4 separate regions of the Homo sapiens genome follow, and regions 2, 3 and 4 are each linked to region 1. Evidence: promoter capture Hi-C in 16 types of primary human blood cells and fetal thymus (Javierre and others, 2016). All regions are on one chromosome and are shown on one strand. Each heading gives the region's core, a stretch centred on a gene start or on the middle of the fragment in contact. The rest is flanking DNA. Distances are from core to core; before and after follow the strand shown. Region 1 holds the start of CCNG1 (cyclin G1). Region 2 holds the start of NPM1 (nucleophosmin 1). Region 3 overlaps SPDL1 (spindle apparatus coiled-coil protein 1). Region 4 has its middle 12 kb from the start of PANK3.

Region 1 (3,145 bases), core at 207-2,706:
GAACCATGCTTTTTTTTTTTTTTTTTGAGAAGGAGTCTCGCTCTGTTGCCAGGCTGGAGTACAGTGGCACGATCTTGGCTCACTGCAACCTCCGACTCCCTGGTTCAAGCGATTCTCCTGCCTCAGCCTCCCGAGGAGCTGGGATTACAGGCATGCGCCACCGCGCCCAGCTAATTTTTATATTTTTAGTAGAGACGGGGTTTCACCATGTTGGCCAGGATGGTCTCGGTCTCCTGGCCTTGTGATCTGCCCGCCTCGGCCTTCCAAAGTGCCGGGATTACAGGCGTGAGCCACCGCGCCCGGTCGGAACCATGCTTTTTAGAAAAATAAAATGCAAATCTTCAAGAAATACTTGTTCAAGTTATTCACTGTCAATAGATAACCACGAATAAACACCGTAAGACAGGATACCGAAAGTGAAAAGCAGATGGTAGTTAAGTATTCTGCCACATATTAACAAAATGAACTGTTCAAGTTACTTAATTGTACTTAGTTCCACATTGATAAAGTAGGGATAAGGTTTATGACCTACCTCACAGATTTGTGAGTTAAAATGAAATCACGTAAAGAGCTTAGCACATACAGTAGACGCTTAAAAAACACTGAACAATAATAATGAGCTTGAGCTTCTTTCTAGATTTATAAAATGAGGGTAACAATATCTGTCGCTGAATGTGAAGACTGAACAAGATGATTCACCACTTAAAGAGTATAGCACAGTGCTTGGCACACAATACTCAATATTACTTAACTTTTATTGTTGTTAGGAAAGGAAACTTAAAAGGTGACATTAGGAGCACGTATTGGGGCGGGGGGGTGCGGTGGGTTGTTGCTAACCTAGTCTGAAAGATGAACCTGGGAATTCCATTGATTTAAGTGTGCATAACACAACCATGTCCCGGGCACAAGCTAAGCCCTGGATACATGGAAGGTCCCTCCCACACCAACTAAAGACAGGAAGGCAGGAGGTCTTCAGAGCTAGTCATGTGAGGAACCTCTAACTGCAGGGGTTCCATTCTTCCTCCCCAGGCTAGTCCCTGGGACTGGGTCGGCAGACACGAAAGGCACCTCAGGAGGCCGGATCCGGCTCCGCCCCTCCAGCCTCGGACTAGCCTGGGCTTGTGCTCACAACAGCGGTAGAGTTTAGTGTGGAAAAGGGCGCGGGCCAGACCTACTCCTCGCCCCGCGCCCCCAACCCAGCTCCCCACCCGCACCTGGCGGTCAACTCCCGCGCAGTCCCACTCACCTTGACAGAGACTGCAGCTCCTCAGCGGTAACCACCCTCCCCGGGCCTGCTCACCTCACCCCACGATATCAGATCCGAGAGGCCTACGAGGAGAGGGGACTCGTAGGCAAGAGGAGAGAGGCCCGGGGAGGGGGACTGTCCTGGGTGGAGGCCTCGGCAGCGCCGCCGAGACAACTCGGCCCTGATCAGGGTCAGCTCGGAGCCGAAGGGGCCGCGCCTGCCCTAACGAGGAATATATTGGAGGGCGGGGCTTTCTCGCGAGAAGGGGGCATTTTCGCCGCTGATTGGTGTAATTCTTTTGATGGATGGCCTCCGCGATCCGTAAACGGCTGGGCCGTGGAGTGAGAAGTCCGGCCAATCGGCTCACACTTCCCGTTATCTGGCCTCAAATTCCCCGGCCCCCTTCCACGCCCCTACCTCTAAGCGTCTCTCATTGGAGAATTTAACAAAGTGTCTTCATTCAGTAGGGGGCCAAACTAAATACTCGGTGCAGCAACCCTCGCCTGGGTCAGGTCAATCGGCTGCCAGCCGGATTGGCCGGCGTATCATTCCAGAATGTACTGTTTGTTCTGTGGGGTTTAGGAGTTCTACAGTGGTTCTGCCCCATCTTTCTAAAAATACAGTGAGTAGTTAAAAAAAAAAAAGTCAACCTTTGATTTTTAATTACAGATAAAGAGGTGGTGGAATTTATATGGTTTGGTGGTTTATCAACTTCCAGAGTGCTCTCTTCGTGAACTTTGGAAGTCAGTTGATTCTTGCCTTAGTTTGCTTTTTATACAATTTATCAAATAATGGAGTTGGACTGTGTAATTTCTTGACCCTCTACCAATTTTCTGAATTTGCTTTTAAAGCAAATTTAAAGAGAAAAGTTGGTACAATTTTTCAGTTGCTTAAAATGAAAGGTATGTGGCAGACTGTTAACAGGAATAATTGTGGTGAGTGTGAATCTCAGTCTACAGACCCGAGTGTAAAGCAGTATTACTCTTTGTATTTACCATAATGAATTTAATCTCTGTGAGCCTCTCCTATGCCAGATTAGTGGGAAAATAATTAGCCTGAACTCTTCTTAGACTCTCCTCACTCTCACTCTCCCAGATCATCACAAGTGAGAAAAGTCCATTTGTAAAAGGGCCTGAAAAAGGGTGCACAAGGAGTCATTTCTAAACTCTTATGAATTACACAGTAGTTGGATGTCTCTGTTCTCATGGCCCCAGTTCGGTCTCTCTTACTTTGAAAAAGTGAAAATCTGAAAGATTTGCCGTCACTCTGCTATTTGCCCTGCCGTGTACTTACCCAAGGCAATGCCACAGAACAAAACTCTGGAAAGGGGGAAAAGGGGTGGGGAGGAAGGGGAAGGAAAAACAGGAGAAAACATCAATACCTCACAATAATACCTTAGCCACATAATCAGGTCAGTTTAAGAAACTGGGGCTCAAATGGGGAAGAGGCCTTTGTTCCTTTTGAAAATAAAAGCTTACCTAGTGAATATAAATTGGCAATTTATAACCTTTAACAAGTGATTTTATTTAAAAATACTTTTTGCTGTAATGTGTGAGTTTATAAATGTAGTTTCTCCTTTTGGCTTTTAGTTCCTATTATTCCTAATTCCTAAAATTAGGAATGTATATGCACAATTTTTAAAAAAAATGGCTAAAAAATCATAAAATCTTTATGGCAGGCTGGGCGCGGTGGCCCACACCTATAATCCCAGCACTTTGGGAGGCAGAGGCGGGTGGATTACCTGAGGTCAGGAGTTTGAGACCAACCTGGCCAACATGGTGAAACCCCGTCTCTACTGAAAATACAAAAATTAGCTGGGCATGGTGGCACGTGCCTGTAATCCCAGCTACTCGGGAGGCTGAGGCAGGAGAATCGCTTGAACCTGGGAGGTAGAGGTTG
Region 2 (3,145 bases), core at 417-2,916, 8.0 Mb before region 1:
TGTTTAAGACAAGGAGGGTTCTTTCCGATAGTTATCAAAAAGTACTGATATAAATTTACCAGAATTCTCAGCTATCCAAAATAACTAGGAATTAAAGCCTTAATGTTTTGAATACATATGTCTACTCTCACTCCATGAATGGGCAAAATTCTTCAAAACACTGTCAGAATAAAAATTTTAAATGATTCCATTTAACTATCATCTAACCGTTACCAATACATATACATGCTTAAATGTGAACAGACGTTTAATTAACAAATCTCAGCACGGATAATGAACAAGATAAAATTCACGGTAGGATTTGCATTTACTTCAAAGTCTGAATAGTACAAAGATTAGGCTTCTGCAATTAATCCTACTGAGATCAAAAACCCAAGTGGGACTCTCCTTTTTGGGGCAGGACTACCGCAAGTCGAGGGGGGTGGTGCTCCCAAAATTCTGCGAATAGTCTTAGGTCTTGATCTGACTCAAACCGAACACTCTACGTGTTTCTTGTATTTAGAAAAGCAGTTTGGTCAATGCCGCACAAATGGCGGCATGCGAGGACGTCCCCCTAAAACGAAGCCTCATTAATATTCACGAAGCAGCAGCTACGGAGTCAAGCGTCTTGGTTTAGATTTAGTCTCTTATTGCCTTTACTAAGTACAACCTTCGTTAAGTGAGTTTATCTCTGGGCACCAGTATCCTCATCTGCAAAGTGGGGCTAGCTCCACCTACCGCAGTGAGACAGAAAAGGGGCTCAAAAAAATGAGAGCTGCCATCACAGTACATGCTGTAAGCACTGAACAAAGACCTCCAGAACCCTAGTGCTACCAGCCTCTTAACATTTCCCACTTCAACAGAGCCACAGCATCCCTGGCTCACGAGTGGCAACACGCCGGTGAGTCCCGGATGTAGCGCCCACACCCCCCTCCCTCCCCCAACCACGTGGCAACCACGTGCTCCCAGCGGTTGCGGCCTCCTCACGCCGCGCCGCGCCTCCCCACCCCCAGTAACTGGCCGAAGCACGCGAGGTAAGTCTACGTCCGGCAGCTCCAGGCTCTGAGGCCAGAATAACGCCAGGCTGTGCATCTACCCGCTCCAACAAGCAGGCCCATGCTTCCCGGTGAACCCAGCCTCCAGGACCACCAACCCGGGGCCTGGCATCAGAAGCCTATGAACCACCGCCGTTAGAAAATAAACCACGCCTGGAGCTCCGCCACGTATCCCCGGCAAAGGCCGAACTTCCAGGCGGCCGGTTCCACTTTACCTCAGGCCCCGGGCCTCGGACCGCTCACGCCCCAGACGCTTCAGGCCGCTCGTCTCCTCCCCCTTCACGCCACCGGCTCCCCCCGCGGCTCCAATCCCTCCAGGTCCAGGGCTCAGGCAGCTCTTCCCACCCGCTCAGGCCTCCCGTCGGTCTGGCGGTCTCCACCAGACCCGGTTGCAGCCGGATTCCCGCCCCTCACCCCCACCCTCACCGCCACCAGGCCCCGCTCGGCCTCGCTCCAGCTCCCCCCAGCAGTTACCGAAAAGATAGTTCTGGGGCCTCAGGGGGCTCATGTCCATGTCCATCGAATCTTCCATCGGGTGGCGGCACGCACTTAGGTAGGAGAGAAGGCGGACGGAGATAAAAGAACGCTGCTCCAGAGAACAACCGCGCAGGACGGAATCACACCAGGGAAAGGACGCAGGCTCCCCGCGCTTATATATAGACCCTGAAGATCTCGCGAGCGCTTCCCAAGTCCCGCCTCCGCGCGCGTGCTCCGAAGCCCTCCCACCCCCGTACCGTAGCCGTCCTGCGCAAGCGCTTTTCAACCCCACTCCTTTCTACCTCGCCCCCACCTCCTTCCAGGTACTCCGCGGGCTCCCACCGAGCACGCGCACTCGTACACTGGCCCCACCCCTCCGCTGCTGTCGCCTGTGCGCACGCGTGCTTTCCAGTCGTAACGCGCACTCCCCACCTCCAACCCTTCCACGTCCTCTCCCGCTCAAGCGCGCCGGCCTCCCGCCAAGAGTCTGCGCAGCCCACCCTGCAAAATGGCGTCGGCAGCCCTTAGCTGTGTAAGATATGGCGGGTTAGCCGGCTGCGAATGAGCCAGAGAGCACCTCGATTCACCTTTCCCCATCCCCTAGTGCCCTGCAAGCCTCCAAACAGGCGTAATCACTTCAGGAATTTTTTACTTGCCTGAAGGCTTCGGATCGCAGTTAATCGTTACCCCAAAGTTCAGGTGCCAGAGAGAGTGAATTGCGGCTTATTCTTTGTTAGGAAGGAAAGATGTAGTTACCGGCCAGACTTACGGAACTTTGTTTTTCAGCTCTGTCCTTCCTGAGAAAACATCTCCAAAGTCCTTATCTTTACGTAACTTGGGGGCCAAAAGGGGACTGAATCAGTCTCCAAATTAGCAAGGACATCGCCCTAAGAGAGCTCGGAGGGTGGGCCGACTCTGACTTCTTGCCGCTCTTAATCTTTAACATTCCTCCTGAAAGAAAGCGGGTGACTTGTAAGAACTACAGAAGCCTTAATTCGAATATTTGGGAGCGAGCATGGGAATTAACGTTTTAAGCTACACCTTGACAAACTCCGAGGCACCCCAGCACCCCGCGGGCATTGGGGCGTTCTGAAGACCCGTAATCTTTTTTTTTTAAGCCTCAACATATCAAACAAATTTAAGAAGTGAGGAATACAAATGATAGCCTCAGAAAGGAAGACACCCCCACCCCAAGGCATTATTTCTTACAGGAAAATTATAGAGACGATTTCAGTGTCTATCAAGAGAGGAATGAACAGTTAAATTATAACATGTCCATATTATGGGTTAGTTGTGGACACATACTAACGCATAATATGGACATGTTATAATTTAACTGTTCCTTTCTGAGAGCTCCTGTGTCACATAAAGCTTTGAGTCACTTAAATTTGTTATGCCTTTTTTTGTGTGTGTGTGGAGACAGAGTCTCGCTGTGTTGTCCAGGCTGGAGTGCAGTGGCGTGATCTCCGCTGGATGCAACCTCCGCCTCCCGGGCTCCCGAGTAGCGAGGACTACAGGTGCATGCCACCACGCCCGACTAATTTTTGTATTTTAGGAGGGATGGGGTTTCGCTGTGTTCTCCAGGCTGGGCTCAAACTCCTGACCTCGGGTGATCCGCCTGTCTCTGCCTTCCA
Region 3 (3,145 bases), core at 646-3,145, 6.2 Mb before region 1:
CTTGTCAAGGAAGTAAAATGTGCTCCATGGTATGTCAACACGTCAAGTCAAGTAATCTCTGCTAACAACAAAAAAAGATTTAACAGCACTTAAGCTTTCCTCATGAGAATTATTAGTTTGATAATGAGATGCTCTACTTGTAGCTCTGAACACAATGTAGTAGTAATAATAGTTGAAAAAAAAGAAATACTGAATTAGCCTTTACTTTCAGAATGTAGTCATCTGAGAAATGTCACAAAAGGTCTATCAGAATGAATGCAGAGCTGAGACAAAAGGAGTAATTAAAAGGGCTTTTGCTTACTCACAGGGAAGTTTAGACATTAAAAATGTTACAAGTACGAACTCCTTCAAGAGGCTTTAAAAAATGATAAAATATTCCCCTCAAAAACCATTTTATTTTAAAGGAAGACAAAGAGTATTAACTGTTAAACACTGAAATTTGACAAGTTATGACTCAAAATGATTAAGTATAACAGTTTTATTTTCTATTAGTGATATTTGTAATCTTTACTTTGCCTTTATGACTTTGCACTCAGTTCTTGGTTTACAACAGTACTATGTAGAAACACAAAGGTTGCCATCACTAGTTATTTTTACCTGCTACAGATATTTTTTACCTGCCATATTTACAATGTTGAGATTCAAGTTTAAATATGTTACTGAGCATTTGCTAAATTACCCAGATTTATTCATTCATTCTTTTAAGAAATAATCGTGTGGCAGGCATTCAGGATAGTGAACAAGGCATACAAAATTCCCTCTCTCATGGAGTTTATAATCTAGAGATAATTAGCAATGCAGATAATTAAGAGTGGAATCAGGGCCGGGCACAACGGCTCATGCCTGTAATCCCAGCACTTCGGCAGGCAGATTACGTGAAGCCAGGAGTTCAAGACCAGCCTGGTCAACATGGTGAAACCCCATCTCTACTAAAAACACAAAAATTAGCCGGATGTGGTGGCACACATCTGTAACCCCGAGCTACTCGGAAGGCTGAGGTAGGAGAATCTCTTGAACCCAGGAGGTGGAGGATGCAGTGAGCCAAGATTGCGCCACTGCACTCCAGCCTGGGCGACAGAGTGAGACCCTGTTTCAAAAAAAAAAAAGAAAAAAGAAAAAAAAAGTGAATCAGGGCAACTTTACATTACATAGTAAGGGCTGACCTCTCCGCTGAAGTGACATTTAAATGAAAGCTGAAATCTGAGGACTCAACCCAAGAGCAGTGAGGGGTAAACAACTCAAAAAAAAAAAAAAGGCAATAGCTGGTGTAAAGCCCATAAGGGAGGACCAGTATAGTCAAGAACAAGGCAAAGCAGTTTGAGGTGAGGTCAGAAGCTTGGCAGGGGTCAGGTCACATAGGGATCTACAAACCCAAGGATGGAGCTCAGATTTTGTTGTAAATAAAATCAGAAGCTGTTGTATGGTTTTTAGCAGGGCTGTGGCATGACCTTTGGTGTGTTATTCCACGACCACTTAGACGCTGAGTGAAGAATGAATGGCATGAATGGCAACAATGGAAGCAGGCAACCCGGCCAGAAGGCTACAATACTTGTCTAGGAGTGATGATGGTGATCTGGACTACAGTGCCAGTAGCAAAGATACATGCTTTGTAGTCTAGTTCTTAGAACTTATTAATGAGTGAAATGTGAGAAATAAAGGGAAGATATTGACTAAAAGTTCTAGATTTTTGGTATATAAAGAAACCAAAAATATACCAAAAATCTTTGGTATATAAAGATTTTTGGTGTTCAAGAAACTGAATGCTATTATATTTACTAAATAAGCTAAAAAAAATCGTAAAAGAATATTTGGTTAACGGACAGGGAATCCACTCTTCTGTCTGTGTTAAGTTTGAGAAGTCTATTAGTGGGCAGTTGAACACAAACCTAGATTTCATGGGGGAACTAAGGGCTTGGTGTAGTGTCATGGGGCACTTAGATGTTTAGAGGTCTAAAACAAGTGAGGTCTTCTAGGAAGTGTGCAGACAAAGCAAAATCTGGTAGTAAATGTGGCAAAGAGAGTAATGATAACTTGATCTTTCAAACTCTGAATACACTAGGGTGGAAAGAATAACAGGAATTCATTTAGTTCATTCTTTTTTAACAGGGACGGGGCAGGGCGGGAACTAGATCTAAAATCTTCAGAAAAGAATAAACTACTACTACTATTAATTGCTAAACAGGACAAATCTTCAATAGCTAAGCACACTCTTGCAGACAGAGGAGTCCAGAGTCCTACCTCAGTCATGGTCATCATTTCATTACGACATTTATCCAATTGATTCTGTAATTCATTTTGACTCTCTACTAGTTGTAAACCATACTGTGCAGCTTTTAGTCGCTCTTCTTCAGCCTCTTTGAGCCTGCATCGAAGATTTGTGATTATATCTGCCTCCATGTTCTTTTCTTTTTTTTAGCCAACTGTAAATAGAGGAAATAAAACTACTTAAGCTTATACAAAAAACTCCATGCAATAATATCAATAACAGAAGAAACATATCTACTCAATACTACTGTCGTATAAAAACATTAAAATTTTCTTCCTGACTAATAAGTAGTCAAATTTGCATTCTTGTTCCAAGAGCAAGAACTGTTCTGACAATTCTGTTACTGATTTGGGATCAAAAATTAAAGAGTGGAATAGAATACATTTAATTTTGCTTCTAAACAGTTCACCATCAGAAAACTGTTCAGTTGTTGTATGCTAAGCTTCCAATATGTTAAGGTAAGTTTGGTCTCATAATTGGACCACTATCCATATAATCAAAATTAAGGGAATAACAAAAAAGTAATCAAGAAACCTCATAGTAGCAGGTATGGTGGCTCATGCTTGTAATCCCAGCAACTGGGGAGGATTACTTGAGGCCAGGAATTCGAGACCAGCCTGAACAACATAGCAAGACTCCATCTCAATCAATCAATCAATAGAAATAAGGTGGGGATGGTGGCAAGCCCCCGTAGTCCTAGCTACTTGGGAGGCTAAGGAAGGAAAATTGATGGAGTTAGAGGCTTCAGTGAGTTATGATCATGGCACTGACAGAGCAAGACACTGTCTTGAGAAATAATAATGATAATAACAATAATACCACCAGAAAAGGAAGGTCTGGGTACTATAAACACATAAAATATAAAAAGGCAGCTGTGAA
Region 4 (3,145 bases), core at 451-2,950, 5.2 Mb before region 1:
AGAAAACCAAACACCGCATGTTCTCACTCATAGGTGGGAACTCAACAATGAGAACGCTTGGACACAGGGTGGGGAACATCACACACAGGGGCCTGTCATGGGGTAGGGGGAGGGGGGAGGGATAGCATTAGGAGATATACCTAATGTAAATGACGTGTTAATGGGTGCAGCACACCAACATGGCACACGTATACACATGTAACAAACCTGCACGTTGTGCACATGTACCCTAGAACTTAAAGTATAATAAAAATATATACATTCTAAATGTATCTCAAATCATAAAGAATCTATTAGCAGGAATAAAAACATTCTGTGTGACAAGAAAAAAAATCAGAAAATGCATGTAAATCCCTTAGCTCAGTGCCTGCTACATAGTAAGTGCTCAACAAATAGCTGTCTTCATTGTTACTTGGTCATTGATATTGGTTGAGCTGGTGTTGACTGGCATGGCCTCAAATAATGAATAGGACTTCTAGGTAAGAGTACTAAGAATTCTATTAAGCATGCTGGGCAAGTGCCAGTTTGCCTTGTGCAACAGGCTCTGTGGCTGGATAACTCTGGAAGCAGAAATTCCAAACAGAGTCTAGCTATTTGTTTGGTTCCAGATAGAAATCACTCCAGTTCAGCTGCTATTGGAAACTTACTCATCTGCTAACCTTGAGGATCAGTGGCTGTGAAGGTAAACAGGAAAAAAGTAAACAAGGTAAAAGAGACAGACTTCTGTATCATGAGCGAGATCAGCCTTGCTCACAAAGGCTCAACTTCTCTAGAATGGACAGAGAATCTAGCTTGATTTTATATTAGCTAGTCATTTTTGCCAGTTAAATGTTAATTAAAAATTGACTTGCACAAAAACTGAAAGTTTGTGCTGAAGAACATCCATAGCAAAAGGTGGTGAGGCTCCTGCCACAAGGAAGCTTGTTATCTAGTAAATGCTATGAATTCACTCATTCTTACATTTATTCTCTCATTCCACCACCAGAATGCCTTCCCTTAGCTGGTTTCTTTGCCTCCTGTCCCGCCTAAGCTGTTATCTTTACCACAGCCAGAGTAAACTTTCCAAAATACAGTTCTAATCCTGACATTCCCCTGCTTTTAAATCTTTGGTGGGTCCCTTTTCCTTGAACAAAGTCCAAACTCTAACATGGTTCACAAGAAACTTTATGATCGGGCTTGAAACCTCCCAGTGGCTTTGAATTGCTTTTGAAATAGAATCCACACTCTTCCTTGTGTCCTACTAGGGAACTCAGGCAGCTTAAGGAACTTGCTTAAGTGGTAGAGCCCACTCTGACTGATTCCAAAGCCCATGCTCCAAACCAGAGCTGCTCAAAGCAGCTTTACAGTGAACTATTTGTTAATGGTCCAAGCCTAGGGCAGTGACAGCCTGGGTCAAAATGTAAATCAATGCAATGCTACCTTCATGGAGAAAGTCTTACTGTGAAGAAAATACCAGCTGAACTACAAACAGTATGATTAGTGATGCAGTTGACTTACCTCCTGCTCCATATCTTGTTGGAAGCCAAAAGCAGTCTGGGGATCAGCAGCCATCTGTGTACCACACTTTGAATAGCATTGCTCTAACCTGACCCCCACGCTGTACAGTAAGTCCTCACTTAACATTGTCAATAAAATCTTGGAAACGCAACTTCAAGCAAAACGATGTATAAGGAAACCAATTTGGCCATAGGCTAATTGATACTAACAAGAGTTAAATTCCTATGGCATAGTTCTGGTAACAGAATCATCACTAAACTTCTCATAAAGACTGAAAACACTTCTAAAAGTTAAACATTGAAACAAATGTGAGCTATACAGTCATTTAGGAAAGATTAATAAAAAGAGATAAGAGAATTATTTACCCAATTAATCCAGTTCAAGGTCCTGGGTGGCTGGGGCCTATCCTGGCAGCTCAGGGCACAAGGCAGGCACTAGCCCTGGACAGGACGTTATCCCATTGCAGAGCGCACTCACGCACACACCCACATTCACTCACACTGGGACCTTTCAGACACACCAATTAACCTCAGGTGTGCATCTTTGGGATAGTATCCTAGTGAGAGGAAAACAGAGTACCTGGAGAAAATCCATGCAGACTTGGGGAGAATGTGCAGACTCCACACAGACAGTGGCCCCAGCTGGGAAGAGATTTTTTTTTTCTCATCAACATAATGAAACGGCGTTGAAGGAAATGATGTTATTTGAAGACGTGCTGTTTTCTTACTCTTCTTATTCCTTAGCTGAGGTCTTCATATGAGGCACCTGATTTACTCCTGGCCCCTTCTTTCCTGCCTTCTGTGGACTTCTGCACAGGAACTGTCAGATAATCTGTATCATAGATGAAGAAGGGGTTTTAAAAAGTATATCCTACTTTTCAAAGCCAGCAAGAAAACCTTTTTTGGAATTATCCTCAGTTTGGGAATTTTCACAAGGCTCTAAGTTCCAGAAAGCTATTCTTGCTGGCTAGTTGGCTAAGCTTTCAGTAAAAGCCCTGATTTCCACAGCAGAACTGTGCAAACTATTCTTATATGCACTGGCCTCACAGCTAAGGCAGTGGCAGCCTCAAAAATCCTGAGATGCGGAATTCTATGATCCTGTCCTTATGTGCTCTTAGTCCTTCCTTATACTGCTGAGGAGCTCCCTAATCAGTCTTCCTCCATTCTCCATCACCATGGGCTTTCTACTAGCTTTTTCACTTCTAGCCTTACTGAATAGCCCCACCACACACACACACACACACACACACACACACACACGCACACACACACCATGCTAAGATCTTTAGTGGTAGCAGCCGTTAGGAAAGGTTTGCTTATTCATTCTTTTGTTTATTCAAATATTCGGTCGGAACTGTCTCTGTACCAGGAACTGTGTTAAAAGTTAGGAACACAATGGTAAACAATAAAAAAGACAGCCGCGCCCTCTGGGAGCTTTCTGAGCTGAGTGAGGATGTCAGACTAAATGACATCGTGATGAATGATATAAATAAAAGTATTAAAGTTCTATGAGGGCCGGGCACAGTGGCTCACACCTGTAATCCCAGCACTTTGGTAGGCTGAGGCGGGCAAATCAATTGAGGCCAGGAGTTTGAGACCAGCCTGGCCAAGATGGTGAAACCCTGTCTCTATTAAAAATTACAAAATTA

The links. Contacts are between HindIII fragments. The CHiCAGO score rates a contact against its expected background, and 5 or more counts as called.
Region 2: the fragment with the promoter of NPM1 here is called in contact with the fragment with the promoter of CCNG1 in region 1 in 1 of 17 cell types (non-activated CD4 T cells); the score reaches 13.6 in non-activated CD4 T cells.
Region 3: a contact is called between a fragment that was not itself captured here and the fragment with the promoter of CCNG1 in region 1, in 1 of 17 cell types (non-activated CD4 T cells). The highest score is 9.0, in non-activated CD4 T cells.
Region 4: a contact is called between a fragment that was not itself captured here and the fragment with the promoter of CCNG1 in region 1, in 1 of 17 cell types (non-activated CD4 T cells). The highest score is 5.5, in non-activated CD4 T cells.

The regions. Positions count from the first base shown.
Region 1 is chr5:163,435,906-163,439,050 of GRCh38, reverse strand. It overlaps CCNG1 (cyclin G1), which reads right to left and starts at 1,456. Exons shown (of 7, transcript NM_004060.4): 1 at 1,247-1,456. It also overlaps a transcript of LOC105377700 not described here. RefSeq lists enhancers at 892-1,091, 783-1,360, 1,802-1,851 and a silencer at 1,532-1,611. The HindIII fragment of the contact is 4,161 bases long and covers 1-2,721 here.
Region 2 is chr5:171,386,370-171,389,514 of GRCh38, reverse strand. It overlaps NPM1 (nucleophosmin 1), which reads right to left and starts at 1,666. Exons shown (of 11, transcript NM_002520.7): 1 at 1,509-1,666. The coding sequence starts at 1,566. MIR3912 (microRNA 3912) reads left to right here and starts at 2,755; the gene lies at 2,755-2,859. RefSeq lists silencers at 946-1,005, 1,326-1,385. The HindIII fragment of the contact is 7,200 bases long and covers 1-2,884 here.
Region 3 is chr5:169,587,669-169,590,813 of GRCh38, reverse strand. SPDL1 (spindle apparatus coiled-coil protein 1) reads right to left here. Exons shown (of 12, transcript NM_017785.5): 2 at 2,239-2,420. The coding sequence starts at 2,397. Among named protein-coding and RNA genes, the nearest start is that of SPDL1, 5.5 kb to the right of the region's middle. The HindIII fragment of the contact is 1,115 bases long and covers 1,338-2,452 here.
Region 4 is chr5:168,589,664-168,592,808 of GRCh38, reverse strand. No RefSeq gene overlaps it. Among named protein-coding and RNA genes, the nearest start is that of PANK3, 12 kb to the right of the region's middle. The HindIII fragment of the contact is 1,556 bases long and covers 923-2,478 here.